Regions from separate parts of the Homo sapiens genome. Here all the other regions are linked to region 1. The links are contacts of gene promoters, found by promoter capture Hi-C in blood cells and fetal thymus (Javierre and others, 2016). All regions are on one chromosome and are shown on one strand. Each heading gives the region's core, a stretch centred on a gene start or on the middle of the fragment in contact. The rest is flanking DNA. Distances are from core to core; before and after follow the strand shown. Region 1 holds the start of NPVF (neuropeptide VF precursor). Region 2 has its middle 210 kb from the start of LINC03007. Region 3 has its middle 230 kb from the start of LINC03007.

Region 1 (3,661 bases), core at 340-2,839:
ATGGCAAGTTGGCGAAGGAGTGTGGCATTTTATTGACTGCAGGTGTACTCATCTTAATAACATTTTTTGGTCCCCAATCTTTTAATTCCTCAAAATTGAGGCTTCTTTCCCCTTTTGGGTATCCTCTAGGCTATAATTAGAAATGACCATTACAATAACATACTGTTGTTATAAGCAACAGATTTAAACCCCCAATTAACTTAAATCTAGACTTTAATCTGCAGAATTGTTAAAGCTATAAACAAAGTTTGTGTTCATATGTGCAGAATTTTTAAATGATTTGTATTAAGCTTTTTAAAGCAATATAGTTTCTCTGTCCCTAGACTATTGTAAGACAACCATAAAATATTTATAAAATATATATAGTGAATACAGCAATGAGTTCAAGCAGCAGGAACATAATGAAGTACTGAAATGTGGCAAAAGTTTATTTTACTGCAGTTATTCTCTTTTGGTTTTTTTGATTCATGTTGCTTATGGAATATTTTATATATTTTTATAATTTGATTTTAGAGAAACCTCCCACTCATTTTTCATGTTTCTCTTTAAAGGCCAAAGTGGCACATGGAAACACGGTACATCAAAACAGAGATGCTGGCCAGGTTTTGGGGTATAGTTGTAGAAGGCCCAGTGGATTTCTTTTTTATTCTATCTTACTCAGGGTACCACTCTAAAGCTTTCTCAAGAAACCAATTGCATTTTTATTAGAATATAAAATACATTTTTAGCAAAGAACTCATTGGTTTATGGGTTACTGCATCACAAGTATGCCAACTTTGTAGGAACCATCTCAAATACAGAGAATATTTAATTAGATTTAGTCTTTACCATAGGAGCTTGTCCATATGGAAATTTTTAAATGATTGTTTTCTGATTATCCCTTGAGTAAAATGAGTATACACGCTAATTTCATCAGATTTGGAAAACACATAAAAGAAAATAAAAACAATTTGCAATTTTACCATCTACAGGTAAACACTTTACTAAGATATAGATTTAGTACACATTGGCCAGTTTGTAATTGCTAAGCCCAAAAGAAATGTGTTTTTTGTTTGTTTGTTTGTAGTTTAAAACAATTTGAATGTCCAGCTGAAATGTACCCAAATCTTATTTCTGCCAACCATTTATTACAAATATGCACTTGTGAGTTGATTGAAAATTATTAATGCGCTGTATGCTTGCTAAGTACCATACTCACCAGTACAATTGTCATGACAGAGGCCAGCCTGATTGCTGTCGTGCTAAATAAACAAGTGACATTTATACATTGTCAGAGGAAGGCTGAAATTTCACAAAAAAACAGAGTACACACCAACTTACTTCTTAGTCTTTACAAAATCATTAGACTTAGGATTAATATTATGTAATTAATGCTACTCACATTAGAGAGATTTAAAAAACTTACCTCAGAATATTTGTCATAATTTTCTTTGCTGTGAAGATTGGACATCACTAATTCATCTGCACAAAAAATGTTTGATGTTAACAAGCTTGAAGTGGCTAAAGTCAATAAAATGAATAGTTTTGATGAAATAATTTCCATTTTGTCTAAATCTAAAATTAAGTCTCTATGTGCAGCCCAATGTTTATGAGAGGAGAAAAAAATTGTGGTGTTTTTATATCGTCTAAAAACAAAGGAAAGTTTTTTTTAAACAGTGAAATCAATCTCACACATTTTAAGTACTAATATTAATTAGAGTGTACAACTAAAATATGCATGTAAGGAATGTGAATAATTCATTCTGGGAAGACAGCAATGTTTGTGCTTGCAAATTCATTAACTTTGAAAATAATTTTCCTCATTATAAAAGAGCTTCTAATTAGGTAAGTTTGGGGGGATAGTAATTAAGATTCCAAACAGACAGAATGCTTCATTTCTCTAAGCTTAAACAAAAAGTATTTTGTTTTTGGTGTTTGTGTCAATTCTTGAGGGAAGGAAAAGGAAGTATTCAATCCATGCTAGCTATGTTTTTTTTTTTTTAATCTGCACAAAAGAGTTAGGCGTAGTATTTTCAAAATGTCAAGCAAAATTAAGAATGTGAAAAAAATTATAATATCCCAACAAAATGCCATGAATTAGTTTTTTTGTAAAATGCTGTTTGGTTATTAAAAAGCTTCAGGGGTCAATGTTAGCCGTAACATGAAGGATGTGTATATGAGCAAATACTTGATAGGCATTTTGACAAACTGGCGTCTCAGGAGAAGCTGGAGGCAGTCAGGCCCTCTGTATTTGCTCTATGGGTCTTATTTGGTAAAGCTGTGTCAATCACCAAAACTTTCTATCAAGATGCTGCATCCTACCTTCCCTCTCAAAGTCCTTAGGGAGACTAGCAGGGGCTTGGTAAGTCATACACATGCTAACTCTATTGGTCCCAGGACGCATATTATTTAGGTAATCGCGTATTGCCAAAGGTGTGCTGTCATCATGACATTAAAAGAGAATTTACAGAAATAAATGCGCATTTACTGAAATGCCAAAGCGAATCTCTTTTGGAGCAGCTGACTGTTCTTAAATATCTGCCTTATCACTAGACTGCCTGGGTTCTAGAGACACCTTTACTTGTTCCCACCAGTCCCTTCAGCCCTTTCAGGAGAAAAAGACTTGCATGGATTTCCTACAGTCCAGCTACTTCTAGACACAGACAGTTAGAGGTAATTCACAAAGAGTTGTAAAATTGCTCTGTTGTGTCTAGAACTGTGCCACCTCTCACCTCTCTCACCAACCTACCGTATGTAATTTGAGACGTGAGATGGCAGAAGTGAAGATCTTTCTTCATATTGATCTCCAGAACAAGCCAGAAAGTTGAAAAACCACAGTGGGTGAACTCTTGTGATACAAACTTGCCTATGGTCTCTCTTAAGGCATTTGACATCATTGGCTTCATTTGTTTTGGTTTGTAGTAGCCAAGAACCCCACAGTAGGAGGCAATTAATTCAATTCATAGTCTATCGTTAATTTTGTAATGCCATTATTGGATTATTTGGGTTTAATTTCCCTGAGGATTTAATACATTTCTCTTCCAAATTGTTCTTTTGCAAACTGCTGATGGAATTTCTTTGTGTGTGTGTGTGTGTGTGTGTGTGTGTGTGTGTGTATGTATGTGTGTGTAGTCAGTAGATCCAAACTTTTGAGAAATGAATGAATCAAGGGGCAAGTTTTGTTGACTGAATTCACACCCCAGAAAAAGCAGAAGGCATCAGCCTGAGTCTTTTTCAAAATGTATTTTTATCTAGTTGTCATTTTCAGATAAAATGCAAATTAAGCAGCTCACCAGTTTTCAGTGCTGCTACTAATGGGTGTTGGCAGATCCATTAGAATTTTCCTGATGACAATCAGCATACACATATGACTTAATTGCTCCCTGCCTCCACCAGGTTAGGACTCCACGTTTGGAAGGTAATTAGAATTATCTTATTAATATGGGGCTTGGGCCAGGCACGTGGCTCATGTCTGTAATCCCAGCACTTTGGGAGGCTGAGGCTGGCAGATCACCTGAGGTCAGGAGTTCAAGACCAGCCTGGCCAACATGCTGAAACTCCATCTCTACTAAAAATACAAAAATTAGCCAGGAATGGTGGCACATGCCTGTAATCCCAGCTACTCAGGAGGCTGAGGCAGGAGAATCGCTTGAATCCAGGAGGTGGAGGTTGCCGTGAGCTG
Region 2 (3,661 bases), core at 458-2,957, 350 kb after region 1:
CTCCTAACGCCCCTGTTGTCGTCAGGCCTTTGCCCTGCTCAGCTGCAGGAGCAGTGGTTCTCCAAACTTGCATGCACCCTCTCAAGCGCCTGGAGGACTGGTAAAAGTCCCCATGGCTGGGCCTCATCTCCTGAGTTCCTGATTTCTTAGGTCTTGGCTGGGGACTGAGAGTTTGCATTTCTAACAAGTTTCCAGGTGATGCTGCTGGTCTAGGGCCCACACTTTGAGAACCATTGATCTAAACAAAGGTTACTCAAAGTGCCATGTGCAGATGTGAGCTAATTGTTACTGATCTGCAACAAGGCAAGCATGGAAATAGAAAGTATACATTTGGAATGTTTTATAATTTGACACTTTTATGGCTTCCCAGTGCATGATCAGTGGGCACACCTCATTAAATAGGATATAGATGAGTTCAGAGCTGTCGCATTTGCATCATGAGGCACATGTGGGGCAAGGTGCTGCTGGAGCCCACATTTCATTCTACGGTAGGTTGAAAACAGAAAACACTGGTCATTCACCATGCATAGTTTGAGAAGCATTGCTTCCTAAACCATCATGCTATATTGCCTCATTATTAAAAATCAAACAAATAAATGGTTAACACACAAATGAGTCAGGTTCATTCTTTCTTGTATTGTACGGGGCAGATGGGAGGAGGAATGGGCCAGACCTTGGCCTGGAACCCACTTCCTCAGGAGGCCCAGGGGAAATGGGCAGAGCTGAAAAGACTGGCCTCGAGTGTGACACTACACATCATTTGGGGGACAGAGGACAGCCCAGAGTCCAAGGAGCTTAGGCCCCTTTGAGGTTTTAGGTCTGAACAGAGAAATTGATCAGTTAGAATTAGGATGCCCACTCCTGCTTGAGGATTGAATTGGGTAAGCAAGAAGGTTGGCTGCTTCCCAGTGAGGTCGACATGGATCCCTCAATTACAGGTAGTCAAGGTGGGTTGAAACCCAATACAGAAGATTCTCAATTGCCACAAGTCACCTAAACCCCAGGTCTGGGAAACTGAGGTATAACCTGGTCTTGGGCATGGCTAAGTCTGCAGGTGGAGACCAAAAGCAGCCCTGGCCACAGCACACATGGGAAGGCAGGGACCAGGAAAAAGTAGGTTAGAAATCATCTCCTGATCTCAGCGAATTGGCTAGCATTTTCTTTTATATCTTTAAACACTTTTATTAAAATTTCCAATGATCTGATTCCTAATTATGAGGATTCAGCTGTTCTCTGCCTTCAATTGTAGGGTCCTCTTGAGCTGGCTAGAAGGATGCCCATGTGAATGAGGGCTTCTCTATGATTTTAAAGCTTGATGAATGTGCTTCAAATAGACTTTGCTAACTGTCTTTTCTAATGGATCTCCTGATGGCTCTACAATTTTACTAGCAGTGATTTATTTTTTAATATTTTGCACTTCAAGCTCTGATAAATTCAGTGTTCTTTCTAAGCACTTGTACAAATTAGATTGCAGTCAGAGGAGTTCAGCATTTTTACATGTTCAATACATCAAGATCTGATAAGCAGCTGTTGCAGCTGTCTGCTTACCTCTCTGGTCCTCATTGAAATCTGCCCTACTCCACAGCCTTCCTTGGCTGGATTGATCCCAAGAAGAGGTTTTCATTACTTTATATCTAGAAATAGCCTTCAGCTTGTTCTAATGATCTCCAGTCACCAATTTGAAAGAGTGCCCTTAGATGTCCACCAGTTACCTCTTGAACTTCATTCTTCCAGCCAGAGAACAAACTGCCCCAAAAATGCTGCAGACTGGCTGACTCAGCAGTGGTGCTACTGCCTGCTGATAAAGATGTGAGTTTAAGACCATCAGCTAGGAAAGTGGAAAGCAGTAGGACATGAGGTTTCACACGGGGGTCAGATAAGCCTGGGTTTCAATCTTGCTGTGTCATTTAGAATGCTTTTGATTGCAAGTAACAGAAAAAACAAGTGAAACAGCTTTAACACCAAAAGTTAGTAGCTGATATTGGAGCAGAGGCAGAGGACGCTTCCAGGTTGGTTGTTCAGCAGCTCAATGTCACCAGTAGTTCCTTTTCTCTCTACTCTGCTGTTTCAGCTCCATCCTCAGACTGATTCCCCGATTCCTCTCAAAGCTTCAGGCTGGCTCCAGCAGCAAGTGAGGCTAACTGCTTTTTCATTAGGGGCCAGCAGGAGAAAAAGAGGGACAACTGCTCTCCGCCAGTTGTCACACCGCCAATCGGATTGACTAGGGTAATGTCCTGCACTGATTAGCTGAGGTCTGGTTTATCTGAGCTATCCAATAAAACCACTGTCCAAAAGAAATAGGATTACCGCAGTTGTTTTAAATCAATTACAGTCACTCAATGGAGTTGAGGATGGAGCTGATCACACCAAAACCAGAAGTGCCCCTGGGGAAGAAGAAATGGATACTGGGGAGACCACCATAACATTCGTGATACTGGCTCTGCTGGTTGTATTCTCTTAGCCTAATCTTTTAACATCTCTGAGCCTCAGTTTTCTCATTAGTAAAAGAAGATTGCCTTGGTATCGACCTTCCTGGCTGTTCTAGAGATTAGGAAAAACATAGGATCATAAAGAGCTTTGCACTGGGCTTGGCACACTGTAAGGGCTCAATAAAAATTATGAGGGAGAAGATAAGTGAAGGGAGGTGCCCATTACATTTAAACATTACATTCTTTACAAGGCTTGTTTCAAGTGGGTCTTTTTCCTTAGCGTATGCACATTCAACGGCTATAAGTGAACAACAAAGACTTTGTTCAGAAACACCATTTATATGACTTATCAGGGCATGATTCACGTGAAGAAACTCAAGCTAGGCTGTTCTAACACATGGGAAGAATATCTGAGTTTAATACTACTACTAATAATGTTAAAACTCAAAAGATGAAATAAAGAAAAAGAAGAAAGTGAAGAGAGAAGTAGTTACAATTTATTGAGCATTTAGAGGTGTTATACTAAGCACTTTACAGGCATTGTGAGCCCTTGACATTGATTTTATTACATCTATTTGCATATGAGAAACACATTTACAGAAGTTGAGGAGTTTGCCCAAAGTCAATAGCCAGTAAATGACAAAACCTGGATTTGAACCCAAATTAATATGACTCCAAAGTTTATTTCATGTTCTCTACACCAAAACTGCTTGCAAGGGAGGGCACCCCATTCATTCATTTATTCATTCATTCATTGATTCATTCACTCACTTGAGCTCTCAGCAGATGGTCCCAGAGTCCCTGCCATGGGTCAGACACTGCTTGGTGTTCAGGGAAAGAAAGATGAATAGTACACAGGGGTACTTTTGAGATTTACACAGTGTGCAAGTCCTGGACTCCTGGCTTGTTTTGGGGAGTTTTTCAGGGCAAGACTTGCGAGGGGCAGGGTTTTATGCCCTTTTCTCAGTCAAATGAGAAGTGTTGGATCACTGAGGGTGATGGAGGCTGGCCATGGGCTGCTCTACCCCAGTTCCCTCCACCATCTGCTCTTCCCAATGAGACAGTTGAATCTTGCGATATCTCAGGGTGAAAGAGGTCGGAACATCAGAGGTCACCTTAACTCTCCATAACCCTGCTCCAAAAAAATAATTGTTTCAAAGGGAAATGGCATGACCAGTCAGATTCCTCTATGTTTGGAATCTGGACTAGACAACATGGATGGGTCTCAATGT
Region 3 (3,661 bases), core at 650-3,149, 330 kb after region 1:
TTAATTTAAGACTCACATTTTAGGTTTGTTATTGCCTAGTAAAATTGACACTTCAGGAAGATGTTTCATGTTTATTTGTATGTAACTCATGACTTTGTACTCTTAAATGTGTGTGCAGCCCACATTAAGATTGGACTAATGATGATCTTTAAGGACCCTAATTTCTTCAATATTCCTTGCATTTGTGATCTATGACCCAAAGATCTTTCCACAGACATCCATGTTCATGTGAGAAATTAATTCCTTGGATGTGTATATGCTGTCGTGCTAACATCAATCCTGGGCCTTTGAGAAAATTTAATGTTTATACCAGAAAGGACAAAATAGGGAGTGATTGACTTCGTTCCAAAGCAGAAATTCAAATTCTCAGTTGCCCCAATAAGTTAAAAAAAGTCCCACCCTTAGTTGGTTTGGAAAACACCAATACTGTTGAACAGCTGATACCAAGCCCTACGCTGGGATTACTGTAGACAAAAACTTGGCATGGGAAAATTTGCCTTCCATGTTCTTGGTTCTTTCAGAGATCCCCCAAATGCCCAATGTGCTCAAATTGTATTATGCCCCCCTAGCCAGGCCTACCCTCCAAAGAGTGAGTACCCTATATGCCCCAAACCCTTCCTTCTTTCTCATAGCTGTCCCTGGAATAGGATTTTATAAGCTAGTTCTCACTAAAGTGTTAATTATTGATACAGTGAACTTTGTTATTTCTAAGTGTGTTATATTACATTTACTTAATCAAAAAGAATATGACTTTAAGATGGAATTTCAGGCATGTGTGGAAAGTAAGGTAGGAGTATATTTAGAACCAGAGCAGGCTTCCAGGGTCCCCTCAAATAACATGGCCCCCTCTGGCAACTAGCCATGTTTGTCATTTAAGCAACACAGAATGCTATGGGCAAACAAGTCTTTGTGAAACATGTGAAAGCATGTATTAAAAAGCTCAACCAACCAAATAAACAAAAGAATCCAAGGATGTCATTGGAATTCCTATTCACATTGCTCAATGCTGTAAACGTGAAGGTGCTTCAGTAAAACCTGGCAGATAAACAAGAGGTTAAACATGAATGCTGTGAAAAAGAGGAAAGGAAAAAAAAAGCGAATTGCAATTGAAAGAGAACTAAGCATAAAGGGTAGGCCTCTGGTGTCCCAGAAATATCTTGGGTCCGAGAAATAAGCTAAGAGAGACCTGTGAAAGATTTAATGAGAGAAATGAACCAAGGCGCCCCGTGGAGAGAGAGTGGGTGTTAAAATGCAGCCCGCCCCCCGCCACAGAATCTGGACCCCGGTACACAGCTATGTCCACGCAGAGAGGGGCTCCTTTTCCTAATGTGTCCCTTCAGAGGAAATGTCATAACATCATTTTCTAATTAGTTTGTCAGAAGACCACTCTTCTAATTTTCACAAAGATTCCCTACAAGCCAGCAGCAGCCCTGGAAACAAACCTATTTAATCTGCTGTCCCCTGGAAAAATATTTAAAGGCAGGAATAGCCAAAAGAAGCAGAATCTCATAGGAATTCAGACATAGACCCAACCAGGAAGGCACCAAAAAGAAAAAAAAAGAAAAAGAAAAAAAGGCAAGCAAAGAAGTCACAATTAGCGGTAAGAGAAAAACACAGAAACACATTTTGTAGGTCTCTGAAAATTTTCCATGGTATCAGGTCACCAATTACCAGTCAACTCTTGCCTGGAACAAACAAAAAGAAGTGACCTATCTCTCTTTCCTGCAAAGATCAGCCTGTAATTTAAGAACAATGTAAAAAAAATCAGAGTGTAGGGCTAAAGGGGTATCTCTTGAAACCTACAAGCAAAAGAAGTCGCCCTTTTTCATTTTGCTAATTTAATGTGAAAGTGAAATAGGTTCCTTTGCAACCTTGACAGCTAGCTTTCTGGGAAGGTGTCTAATATAGGACATAAAATGGAGACATGAATCGATGAGACTCATTAATATTCATAGACAGCAGATTAAGGTTGGTGGAAAAAATTATTTATGAAACGGGGGTATTGTCTTCCTTTCACCAAAAGGATTTTGTTTAGAGAGGATTGAATTGAGTGACAGGGCTATGACAGATTAGGTATGAATTTGCAGATTTCTTGGTTTATCTCCCAAAGAAACTAAAGCATTTGCAAGCAAAGAATGTCCTGGGCTGATCACAGTAAACGCTTCAGCACCACGTGCCAGTGGGTGTAATGAGGTGTCTCAAACGTGAGGTTCAGAGGCCACGGTGTGATGGAAAGCACTTGGGAGGAAATGAAAGAATGGACTGAGAGTGTGGTTATGTAACAAAGGAACAGGCTGAAAGCAAAACAGGGCTTACCTGATGTCAGAGAAAGGTGAGGGGATGAAACGGGCGATTCCTGTTTAAATGTATACATTGGGGGGATGAGAGAGAGCATAAAATCCAATAACATTGTATGTAATTTACAATTTCTCTTCTCATATTAAATATGTATTTGTTGTACTGCCTAAGAAGCCTTGTGTTATTTCTGACTGTTGTTCCTATGTGCTATTCTATAATCTAATAAAACAAGAGTGAAGGCAATGAGTTAAGAAGCAGGCACAGATCCTCAAGTGAACTCTGTGAACAATGCTTTGTACTCACACCGTTGGAGGATTTATTGATAGTTCCTTATCTGCATAAGCCCTTTCCTCCTTTATCTTTCTGATCCTTTACAGGCTTAGTGGAAATAAGCTGTTGGGATTTGTTGAAATTTTAAAGTGACAGATGAAAATTCTTTTTTGGAATTCAGCATTGAGAATGGCAGTGTGGGAACGTTGGAAGAGACCTTGAATTGTTCCCAAGGACGTCCGAAATGCCACAGATATTTAAAAGAAGTTTTCTGTTGGTTGTAATTGAAAAAATTTCAGCCTCCTATGCACAGGCCCAGCTCATTATAGTTTGAATGGTTGCTGTAATGTTGTAAGGATAATTGAAGAAGGGGAATATTTCATTAAAGACATCTACCCAAAAGGCCTAAATTAGGTAAGATCTCCAAACTAGTTTCTAAATTTTGGGGATACATATAAATGGATAGGATTGAAAAACACGTGCTGAGGAATTGAATAGGCTAATCTTTGAAAACAGGTCAGTTAGAACTGAGTCAAAGCAGAGACTGATGCAAAACAACGCAGCAGTGGCTAAAAGGAGGGTGCACAAACATAGTTTGAAAGCTGGGAGAATCCTTAGCCATCGTCTTCCCTAATCTCTTCATTTTGCAAGGGTAGAACCTAAGGCTGAAAAAGAACTTGGCCTGAATGGATCAACCATAAACCACATGTGGTACATCCATACAATGGAATATTATTCTGCCATAAAAAGGAATGAAGTCCTGACATATGCTCCAACAGAAGTGAATCTTGAAGATATCATTCTAGGTGAAAGTAGCAAAACAGAAAAGGCCACATACTATATGGTTCCATTGATGAGAACTGTCTAGAATAGGCAAATCCCTACAGACAGGAAACAAATTAGTCATTGCCCGGGGCTAGGGCAGGGGGAGTGGAGAGTGATGCTAACAGGGATGGGGTTTCTCTTTGGGGTAATGAAGTGTTCAGGAATTATATGGTAGTGATGGTTATAAAATCTCGTTAATATACTGAAATCCAGTGAGTGTACACTTTAAGATGGTAAGTTTTATATTATATGAATTTCATCTCAATTT

Evidence for each region. Contacts are between HindIII fragments. The CHiCAGO score rates a contact against its expected background, and 5 or more counts as called.
Region 2: a fragment that was not itself captured here is called in contact with the fragment with the promoter of NPVF in region 1 in 1 of 17 cell types (M1 macrophages); the score reaches 5.1 in M1 macrophages.
Region 3: a contact is called between a fragment that was not itself captured here and the fragment with the promoter of NPVF in region 1, in 1 of 17 cell types (monocytes). The highest score is 5.1, in monocytes.

What each region holds. Positions count from the first base shown.
Region 1 is chr7:25,226,897-25,230,557 of GRCh38, forward strand. It overlaps NPVF (neuropeptide VF precursor), which reads right to left and starts at 1,590. Exons shown (of 3, transcript NM_022150.3): 1 at 1,406-1,590; 2 at 1-130. The coding sequence starts at 1,543. The HindIII fragment of the contact is 394 bases long and covers 1,489-1,882 here.
Region 2 is chr7:25,577,673-25,581,333 of GRCh38, forward strand. No RefSeq gene overlaps it. Among named protein-coding and RNA genes, the nearest start is that of LINC03007, 210 kb to the right of the region's middle. The HindIII fragment of the contact is 797 bases long and covers 1,310-2,106 here.
Region 3 is chr7:25,555,517-25,559,177 of GRCh38, forward strand. No RefSeq gene overlaps it. Among named protein-coding and RNA genes, the nearest start is that of LINC03007, 230 kb to the right of the region's middle. The HindIII fragment of the contact is 9,306 bases long and covers 1-3,661 here.